Regions from separate parts of the Homo sapiens genome. Here regions 2 and 3 are each linked to region 1. The links are contacts of gene promoters, found by promoter capture Hi-C in human tissues and cell types (Jung and others, 2019). All regions are on one chromosome and are shown on one strand. The core of a region is centred on a gene start or on the middle of the fragment in contact, and the rest is flanking DNA. Distances in the headings are between cores, read along the strand shown.

Region 1 (4,382 bases), core at 1,230-3,729:
CAGCAGGAGAGGCTGGGGGTTGTCCAGGGTGTCCAGGGAGGGGCACTAGGCCAGGCAGAGCCCTAGCTCTGTGCCAGGGCAGCAGGAAGCCACACAGTGTGTGTGAGCCGGAGCAGGAGAGGGGGCCCTGACTCCCATGTGTCCTTGCAGGCAGGAGCAGTTCGTGGACTTGTACAAGGAGTTTGAGCCAAGCCTGGTCAACAGCACCGTCTACATCATGGCCATGGCCATGCAGATGGCCACCTTCGCCATCAATTACAAAGTAAGGCCTGGGCCCTGCCCAAACATTCACTGTCTGCCCACCCAGCCCCACCCCATGAAGCCATCTGTCCCTCATCCCCACAGGGCCCGCCCTTCATGGAGAGCCTGCCCGAGAACAAGCCCCTGGTGTGGAGTCTGGCAGTTTCACTCCTGGCCATCATTGGCCTGCTCCTCGGCTCCTCGCCCGACTTCAACAGCCAGTTTGGCCTCGTGGACATCCCTGTGGAGGTCAGTGGCCCTGTGGAGGTGACCCTGGGGCTCAGCTTGATGGGTCCCTCCTATGGCAGTGACCCTGAGCTGGGCTGCAGGTCTCCAGCTCACCATCCCTCCCTGCCCCGACAGTTCAAGCTGGTCATTGCCCAGGTCCTGCTCCTGGACTTCTGCCTGGCGCTCCTGGCCGACCGCGTCCTGCAGTTCTTCCTGGGGACCCCGAAGCTGAAAGTGCCTTCCTGAGATGGCAGTGCTGGTACCCACTGCCCACCCTGGCTGCCGCTGGGCGGGAACCCCAACAGGGCCCCGGGAGGGAACCCTGCCCCCAACCCCCCACAGCAAGGCTGTACAGTCTCGCCCTTGGAAGACTGAGCTGGGACCCCCACAGCCATCCGCTGGCTTGGCCAGCAGAACCAGCCCCAAGCCAGCACCTTTGGTAAATAAAGCAGCATCTGAGATTTTAAAAAGCCCTGCCTCCACCTCGTCTGTGCCACACGGTGTTTGCTGGGGGCTCGGGGACAGAGGGTCACTGAGGAAGGTCCCAGCACCCTCCCCACAGGCGTGTGATGTTGGTGAAACCCTCTGGCACTTTCAGCACTTGAACATGGACTTGTCCCTGCCCAGAGAATTCAGTGCATATTTTCTAGTTTAACAAGCACCCCCATATTTCTGAGGTCTCTTTCACATTTTAACAACTCAGGTGCTGAGAGAAGCCTTAGGATGTGTGATATTTTTTTCTTTCCCATAATACATAACAGCATGCCTTTCTCTCGGGTGGTGTCTGAGACTTGAGGAATATGATCTGCATCATTACAAGTATTGACTCTGTCCGGTGGCTCAAGCCTGTAATCCCAGCACTTTGGGAGGCCAAGGCGGGCCCATCACAAGGTCAGGAGATCGAGACCATCCTGGCTAACACAGTGAAACCCCATCTCTACTAAAAATACAAAAAATTAGCCAGGCATGGTGGCGAGTGCCTGTAGTCCCAGTTACTCGGGAGGCTGAGGCAGGAGAATGGCGTGAACCCAGGAGGTGGAGCTTGCAGTGAGCCGAGATAACGCCACTGCACTCCAGCCTGGGCAACAGAGCGAGACTCCAACTCAAAAGAAAAACAAACAAGTACTGACTCTGTCATGCTCTTTGGGGGCCTGCGCTGCTCTACCATCTCATGTCACAGTCAGGGAGCTCTGGCTGAGCATCAGCCAGGATGTGACCTGGAAACCTGGCTTGGCTCTTAGGTTGATAGTGTTATTCCTTTCAATGGACTCACTCATCACAACTCAAGAACTGCAGAGTAGGCAGCACGGAGCCAGTCAGAGAATCCTTGCCTCCTTAACAGCCAAAGCCTTTGGACACAAAGTTATAAACATACTTTAAAGTCTATTTCCAGCCCCAAAATTCCACTGTGCTGGGGGTGGGAGCATTTTTATAACAGGCGGCTTGTGGCAACCCCAGAGCTGGTGCTTTTGGACAAACCTCCACTCCCTACCTAAAAGGGCTGCTCCCTGGTGTGCTGTAATTGGGGCCTTGAGCCTGATCCAGCTTTGAGGGTCACGGAAGGGGCGTCCCCCAGGCCAGGGGTTCTCCAGCCCGAGTATTAGAATTTTGGTTGGAATCGGACAGAATATCAGGCCTCCACCAGGGGGCGCCATGGCTCCAGCGAGGCCCAGGTGGTTTCAGGGCTCCGAGAGACAACCTGGGCAAGGGGATCACCAGGGTCGCGGGTTGTGGGAGCTCCTGGGAGAGGCCCCCCGGGACAGGTGGACTCTGCAACCATTCAGGGAGGAGGGGGCTGGGGCTCCGTGGGATTTGGGGTAGCACAAAGATCTGAGAGGGAACCTATGGCCCAGATGAAGTCTTAGGATGCCCAGGTCAGGGGCACTGCAGCCTCGAGTGGTCGCTCAGGGGGCCCTGGCCCGACCCAGTTTCAAGCGGCTCAGGTAGAGAAGGGCACTATCAAGGCTTCCGGGCTACGGGGGCGTGGTCTGATGCGGGGGCGTGGCCTCCGCTGGGCAGGGCGACGCGGAACCGAGGCGGCGGCGGCGGCTGCGGCGGCAGGAAATCGGGGCTCGGCCCCGCCGGCGCGCGACCCCATCCCCATCCCGGTCCCTGCAGAGCGATCCCCGGGCCCAGATATGGACGCAGCAGAGCCGGGTAGGGGGTCGGGGATCCGGGAGGGGCCTCCCCCGACCATCCCCTGCTTCCTACATTGAGGGCACACACTTGTCCCGCTCCGTCCTGAGAGCCAGGAGAGGAGTTCCTGAATGGGAAGGACCCAGGGATCCTCCATTGTGGGGAGCCCTGTGCCCGGATGGGTTCAGGACCCCAGCCCTTCACTCCCCCTCCCCCTTTTGATCCCTCACCCCAGACGCCTGGGGGAGGGGGCCCAGGAAGGGGAAGTGACTGCTTCTGCTTCTGATTTTTGTGATGGGGGCAGGGTGCCACGACTGCTGAGGGAGAGGGCAACGCGGTAGGATCCCCACAGGGCCCCTCTGTAGCCCTGGGGAGTCGGCAGTGCTGGTCTAGGCCCCTTAGGAGAGGGGGCAGGGGGGCAGCAGTAGAAATGTGGCGGGGTCCGACTTGGTGTTTCCGGCCGTCTTTGTGTCTGTGTTGTGTATGTGGAGTGTCATTCGGTCTTTATGTCCCTCACGGCTTCAGTCTCTCCATGTGTGTTTCTGCCCCAGGCTCTGCCTGGCTGTCCCTTGTGTATTTCCATCTGTCTAGCCCGTGGTTCCATTGTCAGACCGGCTTTCTTCTCGGGACAGCCTGGTTGCATCTGGGGCATCTGTTTTGTTGGTTTGCTTCTGGGTGCAGGCAGACCCAGGGAGTGGGTGTCTCTGTTCCCCGAGCAGCTGTCTCTGGTCTCTGGTGGTGTGTGAGTCCATCTGCCTGCCTCGAGTTGGCCCCAACCAAGCCCCCCCCAGCCCTCTCTTTCTCTCTCTCACTCTTCCCTTTCTCTTCCACCCCCTCCAAATGAGACTGGTTGAGGTGCCGTGGGTGGAGGGAGGCAGTGGTTAGCCCATGTATTACACTCCCCTCCCCTAGGACTCCCCCCAGGTCCTGAGGGCAGGAAGAGGTACAGTGACATCTTCCGGAGCCTGGACAACCTCGAAATCTCACTGGGGAACGTGTGAGTCTGAGCCTGGATCACCCCCAAATCCTGCCAAGATGCCCCAAGCCCCTAACCATTTAGGTGCCTTGCAGTCCCATTTGGAACCTGTAACATCTGGACCTACATACCTAATAACCAGAGAAGTCTAGGATGGGACCCTCCAAAATGCCTCGGTATCCTAAAAGTGTCCCCCTAAATAGACTGGAAATCCCCAAAGTGGTCCTAGAACCCCTACATATCCTTGTAACCCCTTAAAATATTTGCGATCCCTATAATCCCACTCTATGAACCTCAAAGTTATCTGGGGCCCTTCAGATGCTTTTTCAAGTCCTATTTAAAAAAAACTCACCTGATTCCCCCAAAACACCATTCTTCAGACCTCCCAGACACAAGAGATGCCACAGAGGTGATGTTTGCCACAAACAACCCTAAGGTCCCCAGCACCCCTTGGCAGGACAGACTGGGTGTAAGGTGGCATCCTGACACACCTTTATCCCCCAGGACCCTTGAGATGCTGGCTGGAGACCCTCTACTCTCAGAAGACCCAGAACCTGACAAGACCCCTACAGCCACTGTTGTGAGTGGGGAGTAGGGGAACAGGGAGGAAGACCTCAAGCAGAGGGGGCCTTAGGAAGGCCAGGCCCCTGCCCTGTTTGCTTCTGAATACTGTCTCCCTCCCGCACAGACCAACGAAGCCAGCTGTTGGAGCGGCCCCTCCCCAGAGGGTCCTGTACCCCTCACAGGTAGGGGGGTCTGGAGGCCAGGACAGTGGGGACAGACAGGAGTCTTTCCTTCAACA
Region 2 (4,862 bases), core at 1,240-3,739, 210 kb before region 1:
TTTGTGTATCTTTTATTTTACTAAATTGGAATGCTGTTATTACAGGAGACAGGTGATGTGGCCACCCAAAAACCATAATAGCTCTGCAGTTAACGATGTTGCCAGTTCTAATATGTTCCACTATATGAACACAGTCAGTTTCTATTTCTTCATCAAAAAGTGTTGTTGAAAGTTGTCAGATGTATTTCAATATAGAACCCCAATTTAATGGCTAGGAGATGACAGACCAGCAAAGATGGGAAAAAGGCTATAAAATTCTTCTGAAAAACTGCACTTTTTTTTCATAAGGCTCATGTTTCTCATGCTGAGAGTAGCTGTGCACTTTGAGTGTTTACAGAGAAATTGCTTTTAGGGGAATATCTTCTGGCTGATCAATCTTATATCTAATATGAGCTTTTTCTTAAGATCTTTTGAACTTTTTTCTCTCAAAATAATCTGGCTCAGATGGAGATCTGTTTTTCTCTCCAATGCTTTGGGTGTCTGTTTCAAAAGCCCTATTCATATCCGATGGTGTCTACATGAGGTGGACTTTCATAGCGAGAACTTTTAGAGCTATTTCTATCTGGACTTATGCTGGAAATTCAGCAGTATTTTTTCCATGTCCCTACTATAGGTAGAAACTGAGGCTGAAACACTAATCACATTCTCATGATTGTGAAGGTGTAATTCTACCCAGGAGGCCTGCAGGCTCTCCTCCTGCAGCTCAGGCCTCACTCTCTGATGTGACACTAGAGTGCTGCTGTGGCAAATGGGGTTCATATAAAATGTGAGCTGTGCTCCAGGCTGTGCCTCAGTGGCAGATGTTATAGGTCAAGAGAGGACACTAGGCTGGGCGCGGTGGCTCACGCCTGTAATCCCAGCACTTTGGGAGGCCAAGACGGGCGGATCACGAGGTCAGGAGATGGAGACCATCCTGGCTAATATGGTGAAACCCCGTCTCTACTAAAAATACAAAAAATTAGCCAGGCCAGGCATGGTGGCAGGCACCTGTAGTCCCAGCTACTCGGGAGGCTGAGGCAGGAGAATGGCATGAACCCAGGAGGCGGAGCTTGGAGTGAGCTGAGATTGCGCCACTGCACTCCAGCCTGGGCGACAGAGGAAGACTCCGTCTCAAAAAAAAAAAAAAAAAGAGGCCACTAGTAACCAGGAGAAAGCAAGCAGGAGTGCTGTAACCCAATGCCAGGGAGTACAGAGCCACTGCTCTAAAATGTAAATAGCCAAAAAGATAGAACCCTATTCAACCATTTTTGTAGCACAATGAAAGCCTACCTTCAGAAGGCACCTGGATTAAAGCTACTAAACTACTTCCTGTTATGAAGATGTGAAAAGTTTGTCATTGAATATAAGCAATTAGCATACACAGATGGCCTCTTCAATCTGTTCATAGGATGAACTATGTATGACATGGCGCTGGAAATTCTTCTATTTGTGAACTAATTATGGTGACCATCTTTCTGTCTTTGCGATCCCTTAAGCAGACTGATGATGATGCATGTCACAATTAAGTTCAATTGTGTAATAAAACCATTTTCTTTCTGTGCTACTTTTGTGGAGTTTCTCTGGGGCTGGAGAAAATTTTTCTTTTAATCATTTCCAAACACTGTCTAGAATTACCAGACATGATAAAAACACATAAGGTGCCAACCAGAATTTACTCTAGAGGGGACTTTTCCTCTCAGGCTTCCAGTCAACTCACATTTGCACTTCAAAATGCATGCTGTCCCCTAAATATGGAGGCAGAATTGTGTCTCTTCCTATTTGGTATCTATAGTCCTCTAGAGTCACTTCTAGAGAGGCTAGACCACATTTCTACAAACTTCACAGGGCAACAATCAATCATTTTACCTCTATCAATGACTCTTGTATCTTCAGGCCTGAAACTGATACAAAAACTATTTAGCCCAGAAACCCAATCACAGTAACATGTGCATTAGTAGACATAGAGACATGAGAATCTCCACGTTCCCCTTTCTCCTCTTGCTAAAGTGCTCACAAATGTTCAGGTAACATCTGCTGCTGCTCCAGTCCTTCAGCCCCTAAATCTGCAGCTCCAAATTTTGAATTTAGGTCTTGAGATTTGGGAAATAAAAAACTTTTATCTAAAAAATGCAAGTCCTTTGGTTATCAAACTCAGAGACATGAAAATGAAAGTGCAGTTATTTCTCCCTCCTTTGAACTATGTATTCATCTCTTGAAACTGTTCACGATTGCCAAAAGTAGCTATAAATTAAACTAATAATGACACGTTGGACACTATATCCCATATCCTAAACCATAACTATATATATCTAATCAATAATAAATGCTATTTCTCTAAATACATAAAAATTTCTGACAAACAACTTTGTGTCTACCTACTCTGTTCTTCTCTTGTTATCTTTACAAATCCTCTTGTAACTGATGCCAATCAAAGTGTAGATTCCAGACAACTTGAATCTTTGCTCCCAGATTATAATCCTTCAGCTTGACCCAAATAAACTGTCTACTTATATTGATGTTGTGTCAGCTTTTTTTTTTTATTTCATGTAGACTTATCATTTAGAATGTGCTAGAGGAGCCTCTATGAGGGGATCTCTCCTCGGATTGTACTCCACTTGCTGTAACACCAAAGGATGCAGAGCCAGGTGGATCCTACCTAGAATCTGCAGATAAGGTCTGGCCTCTGCCTGGGATTTACAAAAAAGGGCTGGTCTTTGGATTGTGAATGTACAGAGAACTAACAAATGGCATTTTCTGCCTTGTGAGATGTCAGCAAAGACAGCTTACAGCCCCCATTTGGGAATGTGGCTCTGTGAGATGTTTCACATCTTGTTCATTGACCTGCTACAGTGATGTGAGAGGTTCCAGGAGGAAATAGAATCTGATGGCAGAATCTGTAAGTGTAAATAAGCATCTTTGGAGTGAGAGATCAAGGCCACAAAGTATCCAGAGCCATGACCACAACTATATTTACCTGTAAAATGTGATACTGGAGTAGAGTATTTTTGTTCTTTCTTTTACCCAAGAGCTAGCAAATCAGAACGGGTGATCCAAGTTCTGGAGCTCCACCAGTGCAGTTCCATTTTCTATTTAGAAACAGCCCGAGTCTGCAGCCTGGCTTATCATTGGGCCATCAGCCCAATGATATCTAATAATCTCACAATAACCTAGGTGTCTTTGAGGCATTTGAGGATGTCCAGAACAGAATTGTGTCAGGTTGACAAAAATGGTTAATTCTGCTTCTGTCTCAGTGTAAGAGAAATGAGTCATCTGTGTTTGTTCCTCCCCTCATACAAGAGGTGTCTTTGGTTGGTACCCAGATGAGAGTTTATCCAGTTTCCTGGTACTTGGATGATAAACAAGGAGGAGATCTGGAGACCCGAATAGATAAACTAGTTGCTTCCATCTCATATGGCCATTAAAAAAAAAACCATGAAGTAGTCATGGTTCCTACAACCCAGAAGCTTTTAGTCTAGACTAGCAACCAGATAAATAATTGGATTATGCATCATATGGTTGGTACAATAAATAGATGTGTCCAAAATCTTAAGCTTTATTTGGGCCACTTCCTTTATATTGTTGTGATTTCTGACATCTACACATAAGGGATATTTATGAACAGAGGAATTGTTATTCTAATTACTTTTTAATTTTTGAGATAAAGTCTCACTCTGTCACCCATTCTGGAGTGCAGTGGCACAATCTCGACTCACCGCAAGCTCTGCCATTCAGATTCAAGTGATACTCCTGTCTCAGCCTCCTGAGTAGCTGGGATTACAGATGCCTGCCACCACGCCCAACTAATTTTTATATTTTTAGTAGAGACAAGGGTTCACCATCTTGGTCAGGCTGGTCTTGAACTCCTGACCTCGTGTTCCACCAACCTTGGCCACCCAAAGTGCTGGGATTACAGGTATGAGCCACAGTGCCGGCCATATAATTTCTATTTATTTTACTTTGTTAAGTGTACGTATTTATTTTTTAATAAAATTACCCTAGGAAACCATAAGGGATTTGTTTAAATTGCATATTAGTATATAGTATAAAGTTGACAGGACAGTGGCTAGAAAATATTAAAATTAGAGAAACTCTGGGATTTAAGTTTCTTTTAGGTTAGCTTAGAAAAAACAAAACTGGAAGTACCCTAATGGTATAGAGAACAGAATTCTACATAGGGGCCTTGCCCTGCCCCAGACCTGTTCAGATTTATCCTTTTTGGAGGCCTTATTTAGGTCTGACTCTACCTTGGAGTCTGGCCTCACAGAACTGATTAGAAGAGATCAGAGTTTTGGCTGGTGAATCCTGCTGCCTTTCTAGAAGTGGTGTTCACAATTTCCTGGAACACAAAAACATAAACAGGAAAAACAAAGTGTGTATTTTAGGGTCATATTTTATAAATTCTCTATTAAAACCAGTGCGTGCAGAGTCATTTAGCAACTTGTTTTCTCTTCCTGCAGATCCAGTAGTTATTCCACAAGTCACAAAAAAGTAAACGTAAACAGAATAAAATTTAAACTATGTTAAACTCTTCCTTTCTATGTCTCCTTCATCTGCCTATATTTAGCTTTTACTCTTTACAGTTTTTTAAAAATTTTGATGACAGAGAAACAGAAGAAGAAAAAATGCTGGGCCCTTTATCTAAATCCTGGAAATTATTAAACACTTAGTGCCAGCTCCCAAGGTGTTTCGAGGATTAAATCACATAACGTGTTAGGCCCAGCACAGTGCTTTCTATCATGCTCTTGAGCACATAGTACCTGCCTAATAAATAGTGCATTAGTACATGTGTACATGTTGTTTTTTTGTTTTTTTTTTTGGAGATGGAGTCTCACTCTGTCACCCTAGGCTGCAGTGCAGTGGTGCAATCTCAGCTCACTGCAACC
Region 3 (4,923 bases), core at 537-3,036, 230 kb before region 1:
GGCATGGTGGCTCACGCCTGTAATTTCAGCACTTTGGGAGGCCGAGATGGGTGGGTCACCTGAGGTCGGGAGTTCGAGACCAGCCTGACCAACATGGAGAAACCCCGTCTCTATTGATAATACAAAATTAGCTGGGCGTTGTGGCACATGCCTGTAATCCCAGCTACTCAGGAGGCTGAGGCAAGAGAATTGCTTGAACCTGGGAGGCAGATGTTGCAGTGAGCCAAGATTGCACCATTGCACTCCAGCCTGGGCAATGAGAGTGAAACTCTTCTTAAAAAAAAAAAAAGAAGAAGAAGAAGAACACAGCATCACTGTTGAAATATTCCTCCCAAAGAAAGTAAATAAAATCTGAATTTAACCATAAAGAAACATGTTTTATGCTAACTTCAAAATATAGATAACTCCTATGTTCTGTAACTTTTAGTAGGAATTTTAAGTAGGCTTCATTTAGCTCCCTAGAGAGCAGGTACCTTAATTTTCTTTCAGAACTTTCTGGGTAATAACTGCCATCCCTTTTAAATAAGCATTTCCCTAATCCTATTCTGCATAGAGCTAATGGAACACACAGATGGAGCCTCAACATTACATGTTCTCCATCTTTACTAAGGACCACAGTTTTCCCCAATAGAAATCTTGAGTATCCACGTCTTTCCATGTTCAACAGCCACGAAGGGAACATTTTTAATATTGCAGATTATAAAGTCTTGCTGAGAATCCTGCATGGCATATAAGAAGCTATGATGCAGCAAATGTAGAGAAGGCTCTAAGGTATAGAAAATAAATATTTTACAGAGACTCTTGACTATCATAAGAATTTTAAGAAGTACTTAAACCAAACTCATTAAAAAAAAAGCAAAAGTAGAGAAGTAAAAGTTTGTGAGTACTAAATGCATAGCATTCGAGGAGGCAGAGTGAATACAGCTCTTGATCTGAAACAGAAAAGCCACTTTTCCCTCTCTTGCTTCTCTGGAATTCCTTCTCAGACGAGATTCTCTGTACAAATTACACCCGTATCTTGATAATATGCCCTTAAAAGTGTCAGCACCACCTGTTTACCTGCTAGCATGACATCAAATGGCAGAAAGAAAAAAAACACAGAAAAAGTCCACCCTTTTCTGTCCTTTAAAACAGAAGAGATTCAGGAACAATGAGCTGCTTCATGAAGATAAAAATATAAGTTTCTCCTTTCCTGTCCTCAGGTGCCCTCCCCTGCCACAGACACCAGCAATTTTTGCTACAGTAATGGAAATATGTGCCACACTGACCTATCCCTACCAAACCCAAACAGAACAGGCCCTGTGACCACCCTTTAGTGCAAAGGTGGAACTTAACTCTCATGAATGAGAGCACTGCCTGTAAAGTTTTAATGAGCTTATAAATCACTTGATAATTTTGACTCCACTTTATGTAATATGATTCTGCAGGTTTGAAAAGGGTCCATAAATGGGTGTTTTAAACAAGTTCTCTGTCAATGCTGATGTTGCTCCCCCTGGGCTCATTGTTAGCATTAGTTAGAGAAGCAGGCACAGCACAGGGTCGCTTACACTCAGCACTCTTGTCACAACCAAATACTTCTGGTACAAATAAAGACAACCCAACTCCATCCTAAAGTTTTATATTCTTTGCTGGCTCTTTAAAGTTTACAGAAGAAACAGAAAGCAGCAATGTCTGAATAAGTCTATATTTAAAAAACAACATGTACACATGTACTAATGCAATGTTTATTAATGAGGTACAATGTGCTCAAGAATATGATACAGAGCACTGTGCTGGGCATAACACATTATGTGATTTAGTTCTCATAATACCCTGGAAGCTGGTACTAAGGGTTTAATAATTTCCAGGATTTAGATAAAGGGCCCAGCATTTTTATTTCTTCCTCTGTTTCTCCATCATCAACTTTTTAAAAAAATTACATAGAATAAAAGCTAAATGTAGACAGATTTCAAGATAAAGAAAGAAAGAGTTTAATGGCTGGGCGCGGTGGCTCACGCCTGTAATTCCAGCACTTTGGGAGGCCGAGGCGGGCGGATCACGAGGTCAGGAGATCGAGACCATCCTGGCTAACACGGTGAAACCCCGTCTCTACTAAAAATACAAAAAATTAGCCGGGCGTGGTGGTGGGTGCCCGTAGTTCCAGCTACTTGGGAGGCTGAGGCAGGAGAATGGCGTGAACCCAGGAGGCAGAGCTTGCAGTGAGCCGAGATCCACCACTGCACTCCAGCCTGGGCGACAGAGAGACACTCCATCTCAAAAAAGAAAGAAAGAAAGAAAGAGTTTAATGTAGTTTAGAGAAAATTTTATTCTGTTTATATTTACTTCTTTTTTTGTGACTTGAGGAGCAACTACTGGATCTGCAGGAATAGAAACCAAGTTGCTAAATAGAATGTCTCTGTTAGCACTGGATTCATAGAAAACTTAAAAACTAACACCCTCTAATACATACTTTGTTTTTCTGATTTATCTGCTTTTGAGTTTCAGTAAATTCTAAGCACCAGCTCTAGAAAGGCAGCAGGATTCACCAGCCAAAACTCTGATCTCTTCTGATCAGTTCTGTGAGGCAAGACTCCAGGATAGAGGCAGACCTAAATAAGGCCTCCAAAAAGGGTGAATCTTAACAGACCTAGGATAGGGTGAGAACCCTATGTAGAATTCTGTTCTCTATGCCACTAGGGTACTTCCAGTTTTGTTTTTTCTAAGCTTATCTAAAAGAAACTTAAATCTCAGAGTTTCTGTAATTTGTTTGTTTGTTTGTTTGAGATGGAGTCTCTCTGTCGCCCAGGCTGGAGTGCAGTGGCGCGATCTCGGCTAACTGCAAACTCCGCCTCCCGGGTTCACGCCATTCTCCTGCCTCAGCCTCCCAAGTAGCTGGGACTACAGGCGCCCACCACCACGCCCGGCTAATTTTTTTGTATTTTTAGTAGAGACGGGGTTTCACCGTGTTAGCCAGGATGGTCTCGATCTCCTGACCTCGTGATCCACCTGCCTCGGCCTCCCAAAGTGCTGGGATTACAGGCGTGAGCCACTGCGCCCGGCCTGTTTCTGTAATTTTTATATTTTCTAGCCACCGCCCTGTCAACTTTATACTATACACTACTATGCAATTTAAACAAATCCCCAAAGGTTTTCTAGGGTAATTTTTATTTTCTTTTTGGAGCTCTGTCGCCCAGGCTGGAGCGCACTGGCATGATCTTGGCTCACTGCAACCTCCGCCTCCTAGGTTCAAGCTGTTCTTTTGACTCATCCTCCCGAGTAGCTGAAACTACAAGCGTGTGCCGCCATGCCTAGCTAATTTTTGTATTTTTAGTAAAGACAGCGTTTCACCATAATGGCCAGTCTGGTTTGGAACGCCTGACCTTGTGATCTGCCCGCTTCGGCCTCCCAAAGTGCTAAAATTACAGGTGTGAGGCACTGCACCAGGCCTTCCTAGGCTAATTTTATTAGAAAATAAATATGTGGCTGGGCGCGGTGGCTCCTGCCTGTAATCCCAGCACTTTGGGAGGCCGAGGCGGGCAGACCACCTGAGGTCAGGAGTTAAAGACCAGCCTGACCATCATGGTGAAACCCTATCTCTACTAAAAATACAAAAAATTAGCTGGGCATGGTGGTGGGCACCTGTAATCCCGGACACTCTGGAGGCTGAGACAGGAGTATCACTTGAACCCGGGAGGCCGAGGTTTCAGTTAGCTGAGATCCCGCCATTGCACTCCATCCTGGGCGACAGAGACTCTATCTCAAAAAACCAAAAATTAATTATAATAACAATTCTTCTGTTCATGAATATCCCTACAGGTGTAGACATCACAAGTCACAACAATATAAAGAAAGTGGTCTAAATAAAGCCCAAGATTTTGGACACATCTATTTATTGCACCAACCATATGACACATAATTCAATTATTTATCCAGTAGCTAATCTAGACTAAAAGTTTCTGGATTGTAGGAACCATGACTGCTTCATTTTTTTTAATGGTTATATGAGATGTAAGGAAATACTTTATCTATTTGGGTCTCCAGATCTCATCCTTGTTTCATTCAAGCACCAGAAACTGGAGAAACTCTCATCTTGGTACCAACCAAAGAAACCTCTTGTATGAGAGGATGAACAAACACAGGATGACTCATTTCTCTTACACTGAGACAGAAGCAGAATTAACCACACTTTTCAGCCTGACACAATTCTGCTCTGGACATCCTCAAATACCTCAAATACACCTAGGAGACTGTGAGAGAATTCCCAGTGTCCCAGGGCTGATGGCCCAATGATAAGCCAGGCTGGAGAGACTCGGGCTGATTCTAAATAAAAAACAGAACTGCACTGGTGGAGCTCCAGAACCTGGATCACCTGTTCTGATTTGCTAGCTCTTTGGGTAAGAGAAAGAACAAAAATACTCTACTCCAGTATCCCATTTTACAGGTAAATATAGTTGTGGTCATGGCTCTGGATACTTTGTGGCCTTGATCTCTCACTCCTAAGATGCTTATTTACACTTACAGATTCTGCCATCAGATTCTATTTCTTCCTAGAGCCTCTGACATAACTGTAGCAGGTCAATGAACAAGATGTGAAAAATCTCACAGAGCCACATTCCCAAATGGGGGCTGTAGGATGTCTATGCTGACATCTCACAATACAGAAAATGCCTTTTGTTAGTTTTCTGTACGTTCACAATCCAAAGTCCGGCCCTTTTTTGTAAATCTGTGGTAGAGGCCAGAACTTATCTGCAGATTCTAGGTAGGATCCACCTGGCTCTGCATCCTTTGGTGTTACAGCAAGTGGAATACAATCAAAGAAAAGATCCCCTCATAGAGGCTGCTCTAGCACATTCTAAATGGTAAGTCTACATGAAAGAAAAAAAAGCTGACACAACATGAATATAAGTAGACAGTTTATTTGGGTCAAGCTTAAGGATTATAACC

The links. The method cuts DNA at HindIII sites, captures the fragments that hold promoters and counts their contacts. A contact is called where the count stands out against the background at its distance.
Region 2: a fragment that was not itself captured here is called in contact with the fragment with the promoter of GMIP in region 1 in 1 of the 25 tissues and cell types used here (liver).
Region 3: a fragment that was not itself captured here is called in contact with the fragment with the promoter of GMIP in region 1 in 2 of the 25 tissues and cell types used here (dorsolateral prefrontal cortex and liver).

The regions. Positions count from the first base shown.
Region 1 is chr19:19,641,754-19,646,135 of GRCh38, reverse strand. It overlaps GMIP (GEM interacting protein), which reads left to right and starts at 2,479. Exons shown (of 21, transcript NM_016573.4): 1 at 2,479-2,625; 2 at 3,517-3,601; 3 at 4,085-4,160; 4 at 4,269-4,326. The coding sequence starts at 2,607. ATP13A1 (ATPase 13A1) reads left to right here. Exons shown (of 26, transcript NM_020410.3): 24 at 151-262; 25 at 346-489; 26 at 604-938. The coding sequence ends at 714. RefSeq lists a silencer at 2,386-2,635 and enhancers at 3,266-3,425, 2,647-3,602. The HindIII fragment of the contact is 23,421 bases long and covers 1-4,382 here.
Region 2 is chr19:19,852,820-19,857,681 of GRCh38, reverse strand. It overlaps the pseudogene BNIP3P9. Among named protein-coding and RNA genes, the nearest start is that of ZNF253, 11 kb to the left of the region's middle. The HindIII fragment of the contact is 3,965 bases long and covers 507-4,471 here.
Region 3 is chr19:19,872,747-19,877,669 of GRCh38, reverse strand. All of the region lies in intron 1 of ZNF253 (zinc finger protein 253), which reads right to left. Among named protein-coding and RNA genes, the nearest start is that of ZNF253, 9.3 kb to the right of the region's middle. The HindIII fragment of the contact is 9,890 bases long and covers 1-4,923 here.